7 separate regions of the Homo sapiens genome follow, and regions 2, 3, 4, 5, 6 and 7 are each linked to region 1. Evidence: promoter capture Hi-C in 16 types of primary human blood cells and fetal thymus (Javierre and others, 2016). All regions are on one chromosome and are shown on one strand. The core of a region is centred on a gene start or on the middle of the fragment in contact, and the rest is flanking DNA. Distances in the headings are between cores, read along the strand shown. Region 1 holds the start of ZSWIM2 (zinc finger SWIM-type containing 2). Region 2 has its middle 290 kb from the start of TFPI. Region 3 has its middle 36 kb from the start of TFPI. Region 4 has its middle 19 kb from the start of TFPI. Region 5 overlaps TFPI (tissue factor pathway inhibitor). Region 6 overlaps TFPI (tissue factor pathway inhibitor). Region 7 overlaps CALCRL-AS1 (CALCRL and TFPI antisense RNA 1).

What was found. The method cuts DNA at HindIII sites, captures the fragments that hold promoters and counts their contacts. A CHiCAGO score of 5 or more calls a contact.
Region 2: a fragment that was not itself captured here is called in contact with the fragment with the promoter of ZSWIM2 in region 1 in 1 of 17 cell types (M2 macrophages); the score reaches 5.9 in M2 macrophages.
Region 3: a fragment that was not itself captured here is called in contact with the fragment with the promoter of ZSWIM2 in region 1 in 1 of 17 cell types (M2 macrophages); the score reaches 5.7 in M2 macrophages.
Region 4: a fragment that was not itself captured here is called in contact with the fragment with the promoter of ZSWIM2 in region 1 in 1 of 17 cell types (M1 macrophages); the score reaches 5.2 in M1 macrophages.
Region 5: a contact is called between a fragment that was not itself captured here and the fragment with the promoter of ZSWIM2 in region 1, in 4 of 17 cell types (M0 macrophages, M2 macrophages, M1 macrophages and 1 more). The highest score is 6.7, in M0 macrophages.
Region 6: a fragment that was not itself captured here is called in contact with the fragment with the promoter of ZSWIM2 in region 1 in 6 of 17 cell types (M2 macrophages, M1 macrophages, M0 macrophages and 3 more); the score reaches 9.3 in M2 macrophages.
Region 7: a contact is called between a fragment that was not itself captured here and the fragment with the promoter of ZSWIM2 in region 1, in 8 of 17 cell types (M2 macrophages, M0 macrophages, M1 macrophages and 5 more). The highest score is 23.4, in M2 macrophages.

The regions. Positions count from the first base shown.
Region 1 is chr2:186,847,856-186,850,462 of GRCh38, reverse strand. It overlaps ZSWIM2 (zinc finger SWIM-type containing 2), which reads left to right and starts at 1,293. Exons shown (of 9, transcript NM_182521.3): 1 at 1,293-1,497. The coding sequence starts at 1,333. The HindIII fragment of the contact is 8,021 bases long and covers 1-2,607 here.
Region 2 is chr2:187,840,762-187,843,368 of GRCh38, reverse strand. No RefSeq gene overlaps it. Among named protein-coding and RNA genes, the nearest start is that of TFPI, 290 kb to the right of the region's middle. The HindIII fragment of the contact is 1,457 bases long and covers 553-2,009 here.
Region 3 is chr2:187,589,386-187,591,992 of GRCh38, reverse strand. No RefSeq gene overlaps it. Among named protein-coding and RNA genes, the nearest start is that of TFPI, 36 kb to the right of the region's middle. The HindIII fragment of the contact is 3,117 bases long and covers 1-2,607 here.
Region 4 is chr2:187,571,982-187,574,588 of GRCh38, reverse strand. No RefSeq gene overlaps it. Among named protein-coding and RNA genes, the nearest start is that of TFPI, 19 kb to the right of the region's middle. The HindIII fragment of the contact is 3,635 bases long and covers 1-2,607 here.
Region 5 is chr2:187,500,890-187,503,496 of GRCh38, reverse strand. The region is part of intron 2 of TFPI (tissue factor pathway inhibitor); the gene reads left to right. All of the region lies in intron 3 of CALCRL-AS1 (CALCRL and TFPI antisense RNA 1), which reads right to left. Among named protein-coding and RNA genes, the nearest start is that of TFPI, 52 kb to the left of the region's middle. The HindIII fragment of the contact is 826 bases long and covers 869-1,694 here.
Region 6 is chr2:187,481,122-187,483,728 of GRCh38, reverse strand. The region is part of intron 6 of TFPI (tissue factor pathway inhibitor); the gene reads left to right. The region is part of intron 2 of CALCRL-AS1 (CALCRL and TFPI antisense RNA 1); the gene reads right to left. Among named protein-coding and RNA genes, the nearest start is that of CALCRL, 34 kb to the right of the region's middle. The HindIII fragment of the contact is 2,988 bases long and covers 1-2,607 here.
Region 7 is chr2:187,459,278-187,461,884 of GRCh38, reverse strand. The region is part of intron 2 of CALCRL-AS1 (CALCRL and TFPI antisense RNA 1); the gene reads right to left. Among named protein-coding and RNA genes, the nearest start is that of CALCRL, 12 kb to the right of the region's middle. RefSeq lists a silencer at 1,057-1,257. The HindIII fragment of the contact is 953 bases long and covers 807-1,759 here.

The sequences.
Region 1 (2,607 bases), core at 44-2,543:
AGTTGTTATTAGTCAGAATAGGAGAATAAAAATAAAATTTAGTAAATTAAAACCTTAGACCTTAGACCTAAGACTTTAAGGGTTGGATGATGTTTATCCAGGTGTCTCACCTGTGAAAGCTGCCATTACCATCATCTTCTTTCATCTTTTGCCCTTGCCATTTTCTGAGAACTCTCCTGCTGTTGACATAATCTAGTTATGATTTCTGCCCATGATAAAATAGGACAAATATGCTCTATCTTTGGCCACCAAGGCAAAGGTTACTGGACCTCCAAGTAGTGCTATCTCCTGCTTTTAATTTCCTATAGAGATTCTAGTAATGTGGCTTCTTTTTTCAGTAATTATGACTCAAAATGTTGACCCATACTTTATTACAGTTTTCCCCCTAAAATGTGGTAAACAAACCTCAGAGACAATTTAAATTATTGGAGGTACAAACATTGCATACCTTGAAACTCTTATTCCTTAGTATACAGATTTGTAAGTTTCATGTACCCATAGTCAATGGATTCTGTGCCACCATTCAGGACGTACCACCATCCACCATTCTGGCTGTACCATCCCCAACACCCACCCCTACCCAAACATGCAATTAAAAAATGTTCCCTCACTTGGAAGACCATTTCCCCTCCAACACACACACACACACACACACACACAGAGAGAGAGAGAGAGAGAGAGAGAGAGAGAGAGAGAGGCAGAGAGAAATGACTTAAGGATCTGGTTTCCTCCCAAGTAGCTGGGACTACAGCCGGCGCCACTACCGGTGATGCACTTCCTAGGGTTTAGAACTCCTGTCTTCTACATCTTTCCCCCAGAGACTCAGTCAATCTATGCATATAGTGAGCAATCAGAAAATGTTCGTGGAATATTGTGGAACGTCAAAAATCACTCTGGGCTCTGTAACCTCGGCTTTCTGTTAAAGATGATGAATCATCACAGGATAATTTCAGCATCCAGAGCCCAGACTGCAATCGGGTTTGCAACTGTCCTAACAAGTAGATTTCACCATCTCTGCCCCGAGGAAGCAGAAGGAACGCAAGAAAATTGACAGCTATGCCTTCGGCCTCCAGCTTCCAAGTCGGCCAGATGATTATTAAAAACACTCCTCAGTCAAGGGCGTCGCTTCGAAACGCAGTGGAGGCTGGGGAGAGTTGCAGAATCCATGCCATCCCGCACCTTTGTCGCCCGCTCTTCTTCGGCGCAGGGCACACCGGGACACCCCGAGCCCAACCACCGTCACCAAGGCAACCAGCCTGCACGCCGTCGTCTTGGAGACCGGCTGGCGCCTCAGTGAGCCGAGCAGAGGGGCCGCCTCCGCCCGCACCCAGCATGCTTCGCCGAGGCTATAAGGCCTCTGAAAGGCGAAGACACTTGAGCGAGAGGCTCAGCTGGCACCAAGACCAGGCGCTGAGTAGCAGCATCTACCTCCTACGAGAGATGGGCCCCACTGGCTTCCTGCTGAGGGAGGAGGAGCCGGAATACATGGATTTCCGAGTAACTACCGCCCCTACCGCCCCCAGTTGGCCATCATCCCCGCCCACCAGGTTCCCCCACTGGCATACCCAATGTGCGTAGCCACCATCACAATCTCTGCGGATACTTGCTGCCTCACCCCCGAAAGCGCCTTCCCACGAGTGTTCCAGACTCTAAAATACGTGAAATTACAGAAGGAAATAGTATTTATTAGAAGTTTCTTTTTTGGAGGTTAAGACCAAACTGCAACTCTTGTAAAAGATGATGGCTCTTGATCTTTAGGCTTGAAAATGTCAGAGGCGTATGAATACCTGGTTGGCATTACATGTGTTCTTGGATCTGTTGTTAGTGGTCCTTAGTCCTGTAAATCAAACGAAATGAAAATTCTACAATCTGCTAGCATACTGTAAATATTTTCTAAATAAATAAATAGGTTTCCCTTTACTCTTTGCTCACTCTGAAACTGTATGAAGGCCCTATTAAAGGATGGTTTAAATGGCAATACCTTGGAAAGATATTAATGAATAAAAATTCAAGTTTACTGAAAGACCACAGATATTTCATAATTGCATATCCCATCCTTAACCACTCAAAAATTAGCCACTGCACTACCTCCTAGGAGTTGACTTACAAAATTTTACGTTAGTGCCGTGAAGTTTAAGAATTGAATGCAATTTACTAGTCTGTGCTTATTTAAAGCATCTTTTTTTACTTTGTTGCTTCAATACTTACTGTATTTAATAGTTTTAGCCAAACTAGTCTTGGTGAATAAATTTTGTCCTCTTGAATAAAATTAAATAAATTCACCGACTCAAATGCACCAAACAAAAATCCAAAATGAGCTACCTTACAAAAGGTGCTTAGCTCCACCCCAAAGTAGAATTTCCTTACTGTGAGGAATTTATGGGTTGATATTTGCTTTTTTTCTTCTCTGACTTTGGGAATTAGATTTATTTTCACCTGCCTAAGGGCAGGTCACTTTAAAACCATCCTAATTTGTTAATTTGCTAACAAAGATAAATAATGAAGCCTAGAGACTAGTATCAAGAATTAAGATTCTCCAGTAGAATCTATTCAACCTTTTTGAATCACCTAAACTAAATTACCTCTTCAAATCTCTTTTATTAACTC
Region 2 (2,607 bases), core at 32-2,531, 990 kb before region 1:
CAGTTTTTTAAAAATGAGAACCTGAATTTTACCGTGTTTCTTGTCAGCTTAGAAAAAAATTCTTAGTAAAAGTTGCCCACTTAGAAGTACATGAATTCCTTCAGATCAGGGACCGTCTAATCTTACAGTAATTCACGTTCATTTCCCTCTCTGGGTGCCTGATGGAAAATTAAATTCCCCTCCATTCCAGACTCCATGACAACTTTCTTGTGGCTCAATCCTCCACATGGACTTCCTGAGACACTTCGCATATTGATATATATTTTTTCTTTTTTGCTCCAATTCACCTTCACTTATATTAAACCAGCATACAAAGCCATTTGGATATAAACGAATCATAAGACTCAGAAGGCTTTTCTCCTATCTTGCCTTGATTGATACAAAATCATGGACCAAGGCATGACTTTTTCTATCAGTTCTCATCATGCTCTCATTCTTCACGAACTTATAAAATAAAATTGAAGAGATTCTAGATGGCAGTACTAAATGTCTACATTTGCCTTCATGTAAATCAACAACTAAACCACTTATAAACATATGTGTCTTTAAGCTTTGCTTTCAGAATTCCTCCTGGCTTCCCTTTGCACACTGTACGTCAGTTATTCAGGCCATTCAAACTCCTGTCCAATGTGTCCTTGAAATGTTGTGTGACTGATAACATGCCTCTACCTTTTCCTGTCTCACATGGAGCTCATTAGTAGTAGTCCCCAGTGTCTATTGTTGACATCTTCATGTCCACGAGTACCGTTCATTTAACTCCCACTTATAAGTGAGAACATGCGGGATTTGGTCTTCTGTTCTTGTGTTAATTCACTTAGAATAATGGCCTCCAGCTGCATCCATGTTTCTGCAAAGGACATGATTTCATTTTTTATGGCTGCATAGTATTCCATGTTGTATAGGACATGATATCATTCTTTTTTATGGCTGCATAGAATTCCATGATGTATATGAACCACACTTCCTTTATCCAATCCACTGTTGATGGGCACCTAGGCTGATTCTGTCTTTGCTATTGTGAATAGTGCTGCAACGAATATGTAAGTGCATGTATCTTTTTGGTAGAACAATTTATTTTCTTTTGGATGTATATCCAGTAATGGGATTGCTGGGTCAAGTGATATTTCTAAGTTCTTTGAGAAATCTCCAAACTGCTTTCCACAGTGGCCGAACTAATTTACACTCCTATCAACAGTGTATAAGCATTCCCCTTTTGCCACAGACTCACCAGCCTCTGTTGCTTTTAGATTTTTTAATAATTGGCATTCTGACTCATGTGAAATGATATCTCACTGGAATTTTGATTTCATTTCTCTGATGATTAGTGATATGGAGCATTTTTTTCTATGGCTGCTTCTCTGTCTTCTTTTGAGAAGTGTTAGTTCATGTCTTTTGCCCATTTTTCAATGGGGCTATTTGTTTTTTGCTTGTTCAATTATTTAAGTTTCTTATATGGAAACTTTCATGTTTTAATGTCTTTGTTGCTCACATTTTGTTTCCTCTTATAGCTATATTTCTCTAAAGGAAGTTTATCACACAAGGAAAAATTACTAAATATCTTAGAAATATTTTGAAGTGCTTATTAATTAATGATAAGGATAATTTAGAATAATTACATTTACAAATAATGTTTATAATACTGATTAATATCCTAAATGTAAAAAAATCCACATTTCTACATACAATTATATATCTAACATACACGTATGGAATGTGCTTTCTATTTAGAGTTGGGAAGATATTTTGCTAGGATTCACTAGACCATGTTAAAGTCAGCCAAAACATTATTATAGTTGTCAATGTAAGCATTTCTTGTGAAATGCAGAATAGATTTTAATATTTATTCATTAATTAGCTAAAACTATTGATCTATTTTGTTATTATGCAAATGTATTCCAGGTAAAAATCTACCATAATTCTGCAGACAAGTGTATCTAAATTATGCATAATACTCTAATTCTTCCATACAATGTACAAGCGGTGGATTAAGAAAAAGGACAAAATAAGCTTTTTAATATGTTTTCTGCTGTGCTCAGTGAGTACATTAAAATTATGTCCCCTTTTTCCCACACTTGCTTGAGCTGTTAACAAAAGCATAAAGATTACGATTGCCAAATCTGTCCAGTCTATAAATCAAATTAATTATTTTCTCAATCATTTCAGATCTTTGTTTCAATTTTAATAAGTTAGAATAGTTTATCTGGCCAAGGAACTTCCAACAAAGTTTGCTTTATTTTGTTAATAGGACAGATTATGTTGATGAATTTTTGAATGGTAAAATCAGCCTTGCATTCCTAGAATTAATCTTACTCAATCATGCTATATTTATACTGGATTTGAATTGCAGTATTTTGTTTAGGATTTTTATTTTATTTATATTTTCAAGAGAAATCCTGGGCTCTTTTTTATTTTACTTTCTTCTGTGTGTGTGTGTGTGTGTGTGTGTACACATGAGCATGTGTCTGTATGCTGCCTTTGGTGTTGGTATTGGGTAATGCTAGCCTTGTATAATAAATTGGGAGTTTTGCTACCTTCTCTGTTTTTTGAAAAAGACTGTGTAGGCCAGCTGCGGTGGCTCACGCCTATAATCCCAGCACTTTGGGACAC
Region 3 (2,607 bases), core at 35-2,534, 740 kb before region 1:
GAGATCTGGGGAACTTTGAACTTGAGAGAGATAATCTGAAATTAAAACGTATGTTTAAAAGAGAAGCAGAGCATAAGTTTTGAAAATTTGCAACCAGATGATACAATATAAAAGAAAAACCCATCTTCAGGGGAAAAAATTCAAACCTGCTGCAGAAATTTGCACAAGTAACGAGGAGCCAAATGTTAATCATCAAGGCAAAGAGGAAATGTCTCCAGGGCAAGTCAGAGGTCTTCACAGCAGCCCCTCCTATAATAGGCACCAAGGCTTAGGAGGTAAAAATGGTTTCATAGGTGAGGCCCAGGGCCTTGCTGCTTTGAGCAGTCTCAGGACTTGGTGCCTTGCATCCCAACTGTGGCTAAAAGAGGCCAACATATAGCTCAGGCCATGTTTCAGATGGTGAAATCCCCAAGTCTTGGCATTTTCCATGTGGTGTTGGCCCTGCAGGTGCACAGAAGACAATAATTAAGGTTTGGGAACCTCCAGCTACATTTCAATAGATGTAGGGAAATGCATGGATGTTCAGGCTGAAGTTTGCTGCATGCGTGGAGCCCTCATGGAAAACCTCTGCTAGGGTAGTGCAAAAGGCAAATGTAGGGTTGGAGTCACCCACGCAGAGTCTCTGTGTTACACTTACTCCCAGTAACAGAGAGTCTCCACTGAGGCACTGCCTAATGGAGCTGTGAGAAGAGGGCCCCTGTCCTCCAGACTCCAGAACAGTAGATCCACCAATAGCTTGCCCTGTGAGCTTGCAAAAGCCACAGACACTCAAAGCAAGCCTGTGAAAGCAACTGGGAGGAGGGCTGTATCCTGAAAAGCCACAAGGGTGAGGCTGCTCAAAGCCGTGGGAATCCGTCTCTTTTATCAGTGTGATCTGGATGTGAGACATGGAGTCAAAGGAGATCATTTGGAAACTTTAAGGTTTAATGACTACCCTGCTGGGTTTTGGATTTGCATGGGGCCTGTAGCCCCTTTGTTTTGGCCAATTTCTCCCCTTTAGAATGGGTGTATTTACCCAATGCCTGTACCCCCATTATATTTAGGAAGTAACTAACTTGCTTTGATTTTACAGGCTCATAGCCAGAAAGGACTTGCCTTGTCTCAAATGAGACTTTGGACCTGGGCTTTTGGGTTAATACTGAAATGAGTTAAGACTTTTGGGGACTGTTGGGAAGGCATCATTGGTTTTGACATGTGAGGACATAAGATTTGGGAGGGGCTGGGGCAGACTGATATGGTTTAGCTGTGTCCCCACCCAAATCTCATCTTGAGTTGTAGCTCCCATAATCCCCATGTATCAAGGGAGGGACCCAGTGTGAGGTAATTGAATCATGGGGGTGGGTTTTTCCCATGCTGTTCTCCTGATAGTGAATAACTCTCAGGAAATCTGATGGCTTTATAAAGGGCAGTTCCCCTGCACTCACTCTCTTGCCTGCCAACATGTAAGGCATGCCTTTGCTCCTCCTTTGCCTTTCATCATGACTGTAAGGTCTCCCCAGCCATGTGGAATTGTGAGTCCATTAAACCTCTTTTTCTGTATAAATTACCCAGCCTAGGGTATTTCTTCATAGCGGTATGAAAAGGTACTAATACAAAAATCAACTTAGTTGGCATTTCTTTATTAGGCATCAGCAATTCTAAACTATGTCAGTGATAATACTCCTAAAAAAAATGTTGGTGTAGTTGCAAACAATTTCTACACTTATTGTTGATATTTAATAATATGTGTGCCAGGGTGGCAGATTGTATTTTCCAAAAACAGATGTAATAATATGCTTTTCCAGAATTTTGTCACTCTCCTATCAAGAAGTGTAAACTTCTTCCTCTCTACTTTTCCTCGGATAGACTTTTGTTAACTGTCTCAATAAACACAATGCAGCAGAAGAGATGCTCAATATGACTTTTGAGGTTAAGTCATAGAAACTCCTTCTTGAAAGGGAATGTTTGCTTTTGACCCCCAGCCACCCTTACTGCGAGGAAGCCAAGCAGTCATTTTCAGAGGACACATGTAGATGTTCCTGATGGCACTTGACCAAGATAGACTTAAAACACTCATGTTCCCCTCATTTTGACAAAGCATTATACAGTTTTCTTACTAACTGTGAGCCCCTAATCTTCTTGTTCTTAGAGCATTAACTTTAGAAAACTTGCAATTGTAAATTACTTATTTGCCCCTTTGAAATATCCATCGGTTCCCAGCCTCTTGACAGTTTTGCAGTCCTGAGAAGTCTTTCCCAAGGACCTGAGAGCTAAACCATTGAAATGTAATCATCAACAAAAAATTAGCCCATCTCCCAGTCTCTATGAGAGATGGGGTAGTATCTTTCTTGATGATTACTTAGGTAGGAGCCTAACTTTGATAAATACCAATTAGCAAACACAGATGGCTAATCACATTGACCAACCTCCGCCCTAACATTATCCACCACTGTTTCCTTAGCTAGCCCCAGTGCTTAAGACTCTCCTGACTTTTGTTTTCAGTGGAGTTGAATTCAGTCTCTCTCCGTATTGTAATAGGCTTGATCCCTACTACAATAGTCTTGAATAAAGTCTTCTTCACCTGTTTAACTCAACCCAGTGCTATTTCTCTTTGATTCATTCTCAGCT
Region 4 (2,607 bases), core at 46-2,545, 720 kb before region 1:
TTTTAATTTAAATATTTGAAAACGAGGAAAAGTAGAAAGGAAAATATCCCAAAATTCCAGTAGCAATCATCCACAATTAGTAAATACTAGCATTTTCATTGTAATTGCTCCATGTTATATGTAATAATTTATATTTTATTATATAGTATTTTGTGTAAAATACAGTATTATTTAGTATTTCATATAAGATATATAAAATATTACATGTATAGTTGAAGGCCACATTATTCTTTATAGTCTTTCCCTATTGCATTCCTCTCCCCTCCTTTCTAGAACAAACAACAAAATGTAACTATATGTCCTTTTATTGCATATATAGCTATGTGTATTTCTAAAATTAGGTAAATGATATTGTTCTTAACTTTTACTCTGATTTATTTTTTGTCCTGGTCATGTGTATACTGTATTTTATCTAAATACTGTATTACTGTATTTTATCCAAATAGTCTTCTATCAAATGATTATACCAAAATGTATTTATTCAGTCCACAATGATTAATTTTTAAATTGTTATGTCATTCTTTCACAAATACACATGCACATGTTCATTTACTGCAGCACTATTCATAATAGCAAAGACATCGATCAACCTAAATGCCCATCCACAGAAGACTGGATAAAGAAAATGTGGTTGGTACATATACACCATGGAATACTAGGCAGCCATGAAAAAGAATCAGATCATATCCTTTGCAGTGACATGGATAGAGGTGGAGGCCGTTACCCTTAGCAAACTAACACAGGAACAAAAACCAAATACCACATTTTCTCATTTGTAAGTGGGAGCTAAACATCAAGTACATATGGACACAAAGAAGGGAACAACAGACACTGGAGCCTACTTGAAGGTGGAGGTTGGGAAGGAGGTGGGGAGTGAAAAACTATCAGATACTGTGCTTATTACCTGGGTAACAAAATAATCTATACACTAAACACTCATGACACATAATTTACCTGTATAGCAAACCTGCATATGTACCCCTGAATTTAATGTTCAAAAAAATTAATTGCTTTCAATTTTCAGATTTTATAAAAAATATTACACATATCTTTGTATAAGGTGTAAGGAAAGGGTCCAGTTCAGTTTTCTACATATGGCTAGCCAGTTTTCCCAACACCATTTATTAAATAGGGAATCCTTTCCCCATTGCTGTTTTTTTGTCAGGTTTGTCAAAGATCAGATGGTTGAAGATGTGTGGTGTTATTTCTGAGGCCTCTGTTCTGTTCCATTGGTCTATATATACCTTTTGGTACCAGTACCATGCTGTTTTCGTTACTGTAGCCTTGTAGTATAGTTTGAAGTCAGGTAACGTGATGCCTCCAGCTTTATTCTTTTTGCTTAGGATTCTCTTGGCTTTATGGGCTCTTTTTGGTTCCATATGAAATTTAAAGTAGTTTGTTTTTTCTAATTCTGTAAAGAAAGTCAGTGGTAGCTGGATGGGGATAGCATTGAATCTGTAAATTACTTGGGGCAGTATGGCCAAAGTAATTCTTCCTATCCATGAGCATGGAATGTTTTTCCATTTATTTGTGTCCTCTCTTATTTCCTTGAACAGTGGTTTGTAGATCTCCTTGAAGAGGTCCTTCACATCTCTTGTGAGTTGTATTCCTAGGTCTTTTATTCTCTTTGTAGCAATTGGGAATGGGAGTTCACTCATGATTTGGCTCTCTGTTTGTCTGTTATTAATGTATAGGAATGCTTGTGATTTTTTCACATTGATTTTGTATCCTGAGACTTTGCTCAAGTTGTTTATCAGCTTAAGAAAATTTTGGGCTGAGACAATGGGTTTTTCTAAATATACAATCATGTCATCTGCAAACAGAGACAATTTGCCAGAATCTACAAGGAACATAAACAAATTTGCAAGAAAAAAACAAACAACCCTATTAAAAAGTGGGTGAAGGATATGAACAGACACTTCTAAAAAGAAGACATTTATGTGGCCAACAAACATATGAAAAAAAAAGCTCATTATCACTGGTCATTAGAGAAATGCAAATCAAAACCACAATGAGATACCATCTCATGTTAGAATCGCACTCATTAAACAGTCAGAAACAACAGATGCTGGAGAGGATGTGGAGAAACAGGAATGCTTTTACACTGTTGGTGGGAGTGTAAGTTAGTTCAGCCACTGCAGATGACAGTGTGGCAATTACTCAAGGATCTAGAACCAAAAATACCATTTGACACAGCAACCCCATTACTGAGTATATACCCGAAGGATTATAAATCATTCTACTATAAAGACACATGCACACATATGTTTATTGCAGCACTATTCACAATAGCAAAGACTTGGAACCAACCCAAATGCCCGTCAATGATACAGCCGATAAAGAAAATGTGGCACATATACACCATGGAATACTACACAGCCATAAAAAAGGATGTGTTCATGTCCTTTGCAGGGACATGGATGAAGCTGGAAACCATCATTCTCAGCAAACTAACACAGGAACAGAAAACCAAACACCGCATGTTCTCACTCATAAGAGAGAGTTGAATAATGAGAACACATGGACACAGGGAGAGGAACATCACACACTGGGGCCTGTAGCGGGGTGGAGGACTAGAGGAGGGATAGCATTAAGTGAAATACCTAA
Region 5 (2,607 bases), core at 32-2,531, 650 kb before region 1:
GTGTGTGTGTGTGTGTGTGTGTGTGTGTGTGTGTACATGCACATGTGTGTTTTAAACAGTCCGAAACCAAGTAACTTTAGCTGAAACACTTCTCTCTTTTTTTTCAGCATACAATATTAAACACTGGAGTAGCTCCGGGCTATTGCAAGGAGCAAAATGTTGTAAAAACAACTCCCTATGACATTTGATGCTACCCTTTGGCTAGGAAAAGTGTGAGGAGGAAAGGGAACTTCAGACATCTGAGGTTTCAGCTATTCTCTCTTTCTTCCCCATATTTCCAAAATCAAAACTTCCCAGTTGAGACTAATATAAAAATCTAGTCAACCAGGACACCAAAGGATCTAGTAATATAAGTTAGATCTAATCCCATAAAACTCTGTGTCTAAAAATGAGAATATTAACAATAAAAAATAGAGCAAGGAGAAGACTGTATGGTGATGGTTATTGTGGATATATACCTTTCTTAAAGTAACATTTTGTGGCAAATTAGTAAATTGTTGACAGAAATCTCAAGCATTGGTATTAATGAGAGAATATTAACAAAATGATAGCTTATTTTTGTATAGTGGTTTAAGATGTAAAAAAGATTTCCATAAATGCATTCTTATTTGATAGCTTTAATAGCTTTTTAAAATGACTGTGTTCAGTGTACTTTAATAAAGTTTGAATAAATACATCTTCTGGGCCTGAATCTGTGGAAGGTGCTAGAGAAACAGGTATGGCTGAGATGAGGTGCTCAAGAATCTCACTGTTTCCTAGGGGAGTGTGAAGGGTGGACAGTTTATTTCCGTATAAAGTAGTACACAAAGTGACAGAAGCATGGAGAGTGCTGCTGTTGATGGGAAGAGGAAGGAGATTCAATCAAGCTTGGCTCTCTGAGGGCTCCACAAGGGGAAGTCATGTTATAAAAATTTCCTAGAGATGAAGCATTATTTAGTAAAAACCCTAATGTACCTTTTTGAAAATAAGAATTTGAACATTATGAGTTTCAATCCCTCATTCGGCTTTTTTCTCAAAAGGTGGTGGGTTAAAATTCTAACATTCTGGAGGTTACAGAAACAAGGAAGGTGGAGGATAAAATAAGTCTTAACAGGGAAAAAACAGGCAATCTCACTTGTGGGAAGTGAGAAGCAAATAGATCCAAGTGTTCCCTGTATTTGTCCCAGTCCAATTTTCCTCAACTGGACTGAGAAAATGAATATTGGTTAACCAGGAAGTTCCTGAAATTGTGGCTGCTGCCACTGTCAATCAATAATCCAGAATTAAGTTATCAGTAATTAAGCCAGAATTTAAAATTACTATAAGGTAGCTTCCAAACCTAGGTGGTAACAAAGAATTTTGATATTTAAGCTAGACTTAAAGACCTCTTCACCAACTAGTTGCAGTTTTATCTAGTTTTATTTTGTTTTTGTTTAAAATTAATTTTTATAATAACCTTATCTCACATCTGAAAAAATTCTATTTAGGAGATACAATTTATCACATGATGCTAAGATCATAACATCATTTTATAGAAGTATATTATTTAATTGAAATAAGGTACTCTTATTAATAGAAAAATACATCAAATTTTATTGCTTCTCTCACAAGCAAATAGTAGATGATTTTTTTAACAGTCAAATCAGCAGGGAGGATAATCTAGAATTAACGTCTAGATAAGGCAAAAATGATAATAAAAAGAGTAGTGATAAGCTTTTTAAAACAATTCCATTGGGCTAGGAGAGAGAAAATTAAGAGTGAACATTTAGTGAAAGGCAAGTATCTTTTGTAGGATTTAGAATCAGACAGACCTGAGTTTGCAGGTGTAGTTTGCCACCTAGTACCTTTGTGAGACTGAATAAGTTAAACTTTCTGACTACCAGTGTCCTAAGCTGTAAATGAATAATGTAAATAACTAATTTCCTATGATTTTTATATAAAAAGTGGAAAAGCATCTGGCACATTTTCTGACACAGAGAAGGCAAAAGGTACATGTGTTTGTTCTTCCCTGCCAGAAAATAAAATAAAATAAAATAAAATCCTTTAATTAGAGTCTAGCAGCATGTGGATTCTTAGATGGTAAGTTACCTGAAAGCCCTAGATTTGCAAATAAGTTCCAAGAGGATGAGTATTCTTACAGTCAAGGGCATGATATGTTTTCAGGCAGCAAATATTATAGTAAGCTTCTATCCAACATCCCAGGACATGGGGCGGGGGGAGGGAAGGGGAAGGCAGGATTGTAACCTTTAGACTATGAGACATAAAATTCATGACATCAAAGGCAAATGATTCAATATAAACCATAATTCTATTTATATGACTGGATCAGATTAAATTCCTTTTAGATTGCCCTCTATGTGTTTTGCTTTCTCATGGCCGCTGGCAGATAATTATTACCTCTGTAAACATTTCCTTCAAGTCTCAATTTCAAGTCTCAGGAAAGTTATCGCTGACCCCTTCAGGCTAATTTAGGTATCCTACTGTTCACTCGCACAGCACCCAGGACTTTCTGAATGTTTATGTAAGTCCTTAGTGTCTATATGCTCCATGAACGAGGGGTTGCTGTCATCTAATTTACTGTCATATCTGTAGTGACAGCACAGTGCTTGACGCATGGTCAATACCCAA
Region 6 (2,607 bases), core at 71-2,570, 630 kb before region 1:
GCAAGGTCTCTGGTGTTACTCACAGGACAGATTAGAAATTGATTGAATAACCATGCCTAAATGTTATGTCACTCTGGAGGGAATTTTCTTTTGAATTCTGCAGGACTCTTTTTTATGTTCTTGTCTGTTAACCTATTTATCAGATTTAAACGAATATACAGGAAATATTTCCACAAAATGCAGAGCTGAGAAAATAGTGAAAATACTGGAAAACATAATCAGGAACCACAAATATCTGGGCAGTTAGAAATAACATAAACAGCTAAAAATTACCAGTGTAAAATTGTTAGATCCTAGCTAAATTATAAAAATCACATATTCTTATTCAGATATTGAAGATTTTGTTTAGAAGTAGTCCATGTGAACATGTCAAAGGTAAACTTGGCATGTTTATATATAAACTTAGCCTGAGTGTGAAGAATTCTGTAACTATTAAAATTGCAATCTTAGGATTAAAATAATAATAAAAAAAAAAGAAACAGTGTTTGGGCCAGGAATTCTCTACCTTGGCCATTTATCAGAATCAGATTGGCTTTGAGCTACTCCTCTTTACAACAAACAAACAAACGAACAACTAAGCAAGCAAGCCAACAGAACGCAAACAAAATCCCTGCCCACGTGGATTTGAAGCATTAAAATGTTGACTCCGACTTTTCTAGAAAGAGTCTGTGAATGTTCAGCTGAGTCCCACAGTGATCTAATCATTTGTGGGTCTTGCTTCAGCACTGAATGTCACACCTTGGAAATCACAAGGAGGATTTGAAACATGATTAAAGAGGAAATGAAAAGTGTAAAGAGACATGAGATCTACGAGGGAGCATAATATGTGCTTTTAATAACTGAAACACTATTATGTGAAAGGAGAATTAAGTTCTCTACATGACTTACCCTTTAGTCCTGCCTATTTCACACCCTCCCCAGACCCCCATCCCCATCCTCCCTTATCCCCCTCAACCCAGCCTAAGCATGAGGATTAATGTGTGAGAACTAAAGTATAAATGCCTTTCTATAATATGTTTCTTTCTTATGTGAGATCTTAAAAAATTGATGGCTGTCTCAGGTATTAATAAATTCCCTAAATTGTAGGCATTCAATAAGTGTGCAATTAACACTTAAGAGGTCATTAAGGGGATGCAAACTTTCAGTGGGAGTTGGAAAATACGATATATTCAAAATGACTTCAGGTCCTTACATTCAATAGGTAGAGCAGTGAATTGAATGCCAGATGAACTTGAGTCTAATTTTTAAATACTACTTCGTTCGTAAAAATTAATACTTTTGTGATTCTGACTTATCTGAAAAATTAAGTACTATCGTTGCATTATTTCTTTATGTCTTTCCAGCTTTGTATTTTTCACTCGTATTTTGTTTTATTCAGTTATTATATTTTCAAAAGCACGTTAAATCTTACTGCTGTAAAAGAAAATTTAGAATGACTAAATTAACAGGTTTAAATATACATGTGACACAGTATATCAGTAAGTACAAGAAATGTATGAAATCAGTTTGCAACATGCTTGAATACTTTTGTTTGAATTATTTTACCAATTCAAGTGGAGATCTGCAGTCATTTATCATTAAAGTGAGTAGAGTAGGTTAGGGAATAATTTTGCCTTAAGTTTTTTTGAAGTATAAAATTTAAAATTTTTGGTAAGCATACTACCAAGTTAGAAAGGGCAAAATAAAAATTAGTGTGAGAAAGTAATATTAATGAGTTTTAAATGGCCTCTGATATGTCTTCTTTAGTTTATTGTGTAGATGCACATTGAAAATTGTAACAAATAAATAAATGCTTGTAAAAGTAAATTATTAACTAAGCAGTAAGAATTGACAACATGAATTTAAAAGAAAACAATATTAACAATAATTTATTCAGAATAATAGACATTTAAGGAATAATGTTATCGTAACTGCATTTAAAATTAGGGCAAATGTCTCCTTTATTTGTCTAAAAAACTGTTTTATTTTTGATTGTATATATTGGCCTCAAAATCAACATTCCTCCGGCCAATTTGACCCCTTTTCCTTTTTCTAAGAGCATTTCCTTCCCTTCCCTTCCCCGCCCCTCCCCTCCCTTCCCTCCCTTTCTTCCTTCCTAATCTAAAACATGAAACAATGTTGCAGTAACTAGGAGACATTTGATATTAAGGATGGCATAAGGTGGATTGTCAATGAAGCTATGTTGCCATTCTTCTTAAAACCTACGTGATTTCGAATCTGCCCCAGCCAAGATGCGGAAGTGGGAATGCAGATGTCCCTGTACTCTGTTCTAAAACCTAGATGACCCCTTGTCACTTCTGTCTGAGGGGTTTGCTGAGATCTACAGACACCTCTTAATTTCCCCAATCAAATATAATTACATCTGTCACTGCTTACAATTATATTAATACATTCTATTGTAGTTTAAGAAAATGCAATTCTTTGTTTACATAAAACTTTGTTTTTCAAGGGTTTTATCAAACGTGTAAAGTTCTCTGTGGTATCAGGTTATTTTGAAAAGCTGTAAATCCTTTAAAGTTTCAATTCAATGTACAGGAATAATAATCTGCCCCACAACATAAATGGAATACCAGTCTTTAAATTCTTTCCACTAAATAACAATCTTTA
Region 7 (2,607 bases), core at 34-2,533, 610 kb before region 1:
CCAGATGGGAGATGCACCAGGGGTCCCTCTGCTTAGCGGCCCGTGCTCTCCTCCTCCTGATCTCGCTAAACTCCACATCGTTCCTCCAGTCAATGGCCTGCTGTCCTGCCAGTGTCTGTCATGTGCTCTTCCACTGGCATGCTCCCCTCGACATCCTCTCGATGTCCGGCTGCTTGTGTCTTCTTCCGCTGATCCCCTCCTCTGGACGTCCAGACGCTTGTGTATCTATCTGCCTGCTAGGGTCTCAGTTTTTATCCGCCCAGGATGGGGGTGTGGTGGGCCAGGGTGGTTTTGGAAAATGCAACATTTGGGCCCAAAGGCAGGAGTGCCTGTCCTCACCTAGGTTCGTGGGCACAAGCCAGAGGGTGAAGCCCTAGCCAGGAACCGGCCTTGCTCTACCCAGCACTTCCCTGTCCCCCGTTCGGTATCATTTAAAGGGACCATGCTCGTCCCTTCCCAGCACTCCTGTATCAAAATCAATAGCATTTCTGTACACTAGGAAAAATGTACTAGCCACAATAGAACAGAAACCCTAATTTGCCCAACAGTAAATCCCACAAAAGATGATTTTAAAAACTTTTAGATAAAAAAATCTTATATTGAAAATTCAAATATGTTATTGAAGTACATAAATGGAGCTAAATATTTTCCTGTTTGTTGTAACTTCTATAATTAGTATTCACAGAGAAATCAGCCAATGATAACACTAGGTTATAAGAAAGAAACTCTTGGTAATTAAAATGAAATAAATGGTTTTTTAAAATCAAGAAATAGAAGATAAAGTTAAAAAAAAAAATCTCTAAGCTTTGGAAAGAAGAGGTCATTAGGATGGAAAAGAAGATAGAAAAGATAAAATTTCGCAATTAGTTCAGGTGCCCTACCTTGAAGTGTCAAAAGGATCTGGAAAATAGCAGAGATAAATAGAGGGGAGAGACATCTTACAGAAAAAGAATAACAGAGATTCCCTTCACTGAAATGGTGTGTTGTACCCAACAAAGGGTAACCGCCTGACATACCCCCTCTGCACACACATGAAATTTCAAATTCTAGTAACGAAGAGAAAAGTCCTAAGAACAGGAGACTGTGGAGGGATAAGTCACATACAAAGAAATAGAAATAAAAAGGAATTGTATATTTCCATGACAGTAATGGAAGGAAGCCACAAGACAGTTGAATGTAGAAGTCTGAGGGATGGAGAATGGCTATTTACTTGCTAGAAGTCTGTTTGTACTAACTTATCTTTCAATTATGTGTGTGTAGTGCTTTGCTGAAAGATGGGAAAGAGGCTTTGGGAAAAAGTTTTAGAATATAAACTAAGAGATACTGTTTCTAGTACCAGTACTAACCTAGTGGATGAATTTTTTTGACCATCTAATTTCTCTGGCCCCATATTTACTTATATTTAGAATGAGTGTTTTGGACTAGACTGGTTATATAAACAAGTTTTTTGGTTTGGGTAATTTTAAGATTTTATGGCAATACTCTCTATTTAAAAGTATCTAATACCAACATATGTTAAGCCAAAAAAAAATGGAGAGATGTTCTGTGATTAAAAAATAAAAATCAACATTGGCCGGATTCTACTGTTAGCAATATCCATACCCCCCCCAGCATAAGGTTGTTATGTACAGTAGTCTTCTATATTCTTCAAAAATAGCCTATGCTGATGGAGCTTGACATCTTCAAACTGACTATACCTACAATTTCCTTTTCCAGTGCCTGATTAATTCCCAAACATCAAAAGATTTTATGAGAAGCTTCCAAGTAATTACCTTACAGGAGGTCCCACATACTGTGGGATTTTCTGAATGCCTTAATAATGGGTTTTATAATCAAAAAACATTTCTGAATCCATTAACTTTTTCTTTCTCAATATTATATATATCGTAGGGAAAATAATATATGTGGATCTGATTTATACTACTCATCAAGGCGTTTCAACCTCATGAGAAGTTTTGAAATAATTTTTAGACCGTTTTTGTCTCTTAAGTATTCTAAAAAAGCAAGCCAAATTTAATTAAGAATAATTAACTAGAATTAGATTTTTCTAGTACCAAAATGTTTTATCTCAATCAACAATTTATTCTAAGTTTTAGACAAATCCTAATTGTAGCCAAAATCAACTCATTCCTGTCAACATTGTTGATGATTTGCTATTCTTTTTCATTACAAGATAAAATCAGCCAACTCAATTATGAACTTGAATTTCTTTAGGGACTTAATCCATATTTAATCTGTATTTGCACAAGGGGCATAATTCTAATTTACTGAACTCTTTTTCTAAGCTGCAGGTGTTCTTAAATTAGAAGCCAGAGGAAACTGCTACTTCCTTCTTGTTAGTCAGTTTTTGGAATCAGAAAGCAAGAACTTTGACTTTCCAACAGTATTTTTTTTTAAAACATATTCCCCACTCTCAACAGAATGTTCCACAAAATTTGTAAGTCACTCTAGGGAAATTTCCAGAGTTTCAAGATGTGAACAGCTGTGAGCTACCTAAATGATCCATCTTGCCAAGAAATTGTTACTCCAGAGACGACGAAATAAACAATTACCATTTTTTATTGAAAGTTTCTGCCACTGTTCAATGAGAAAGTATTTAAAATTCTA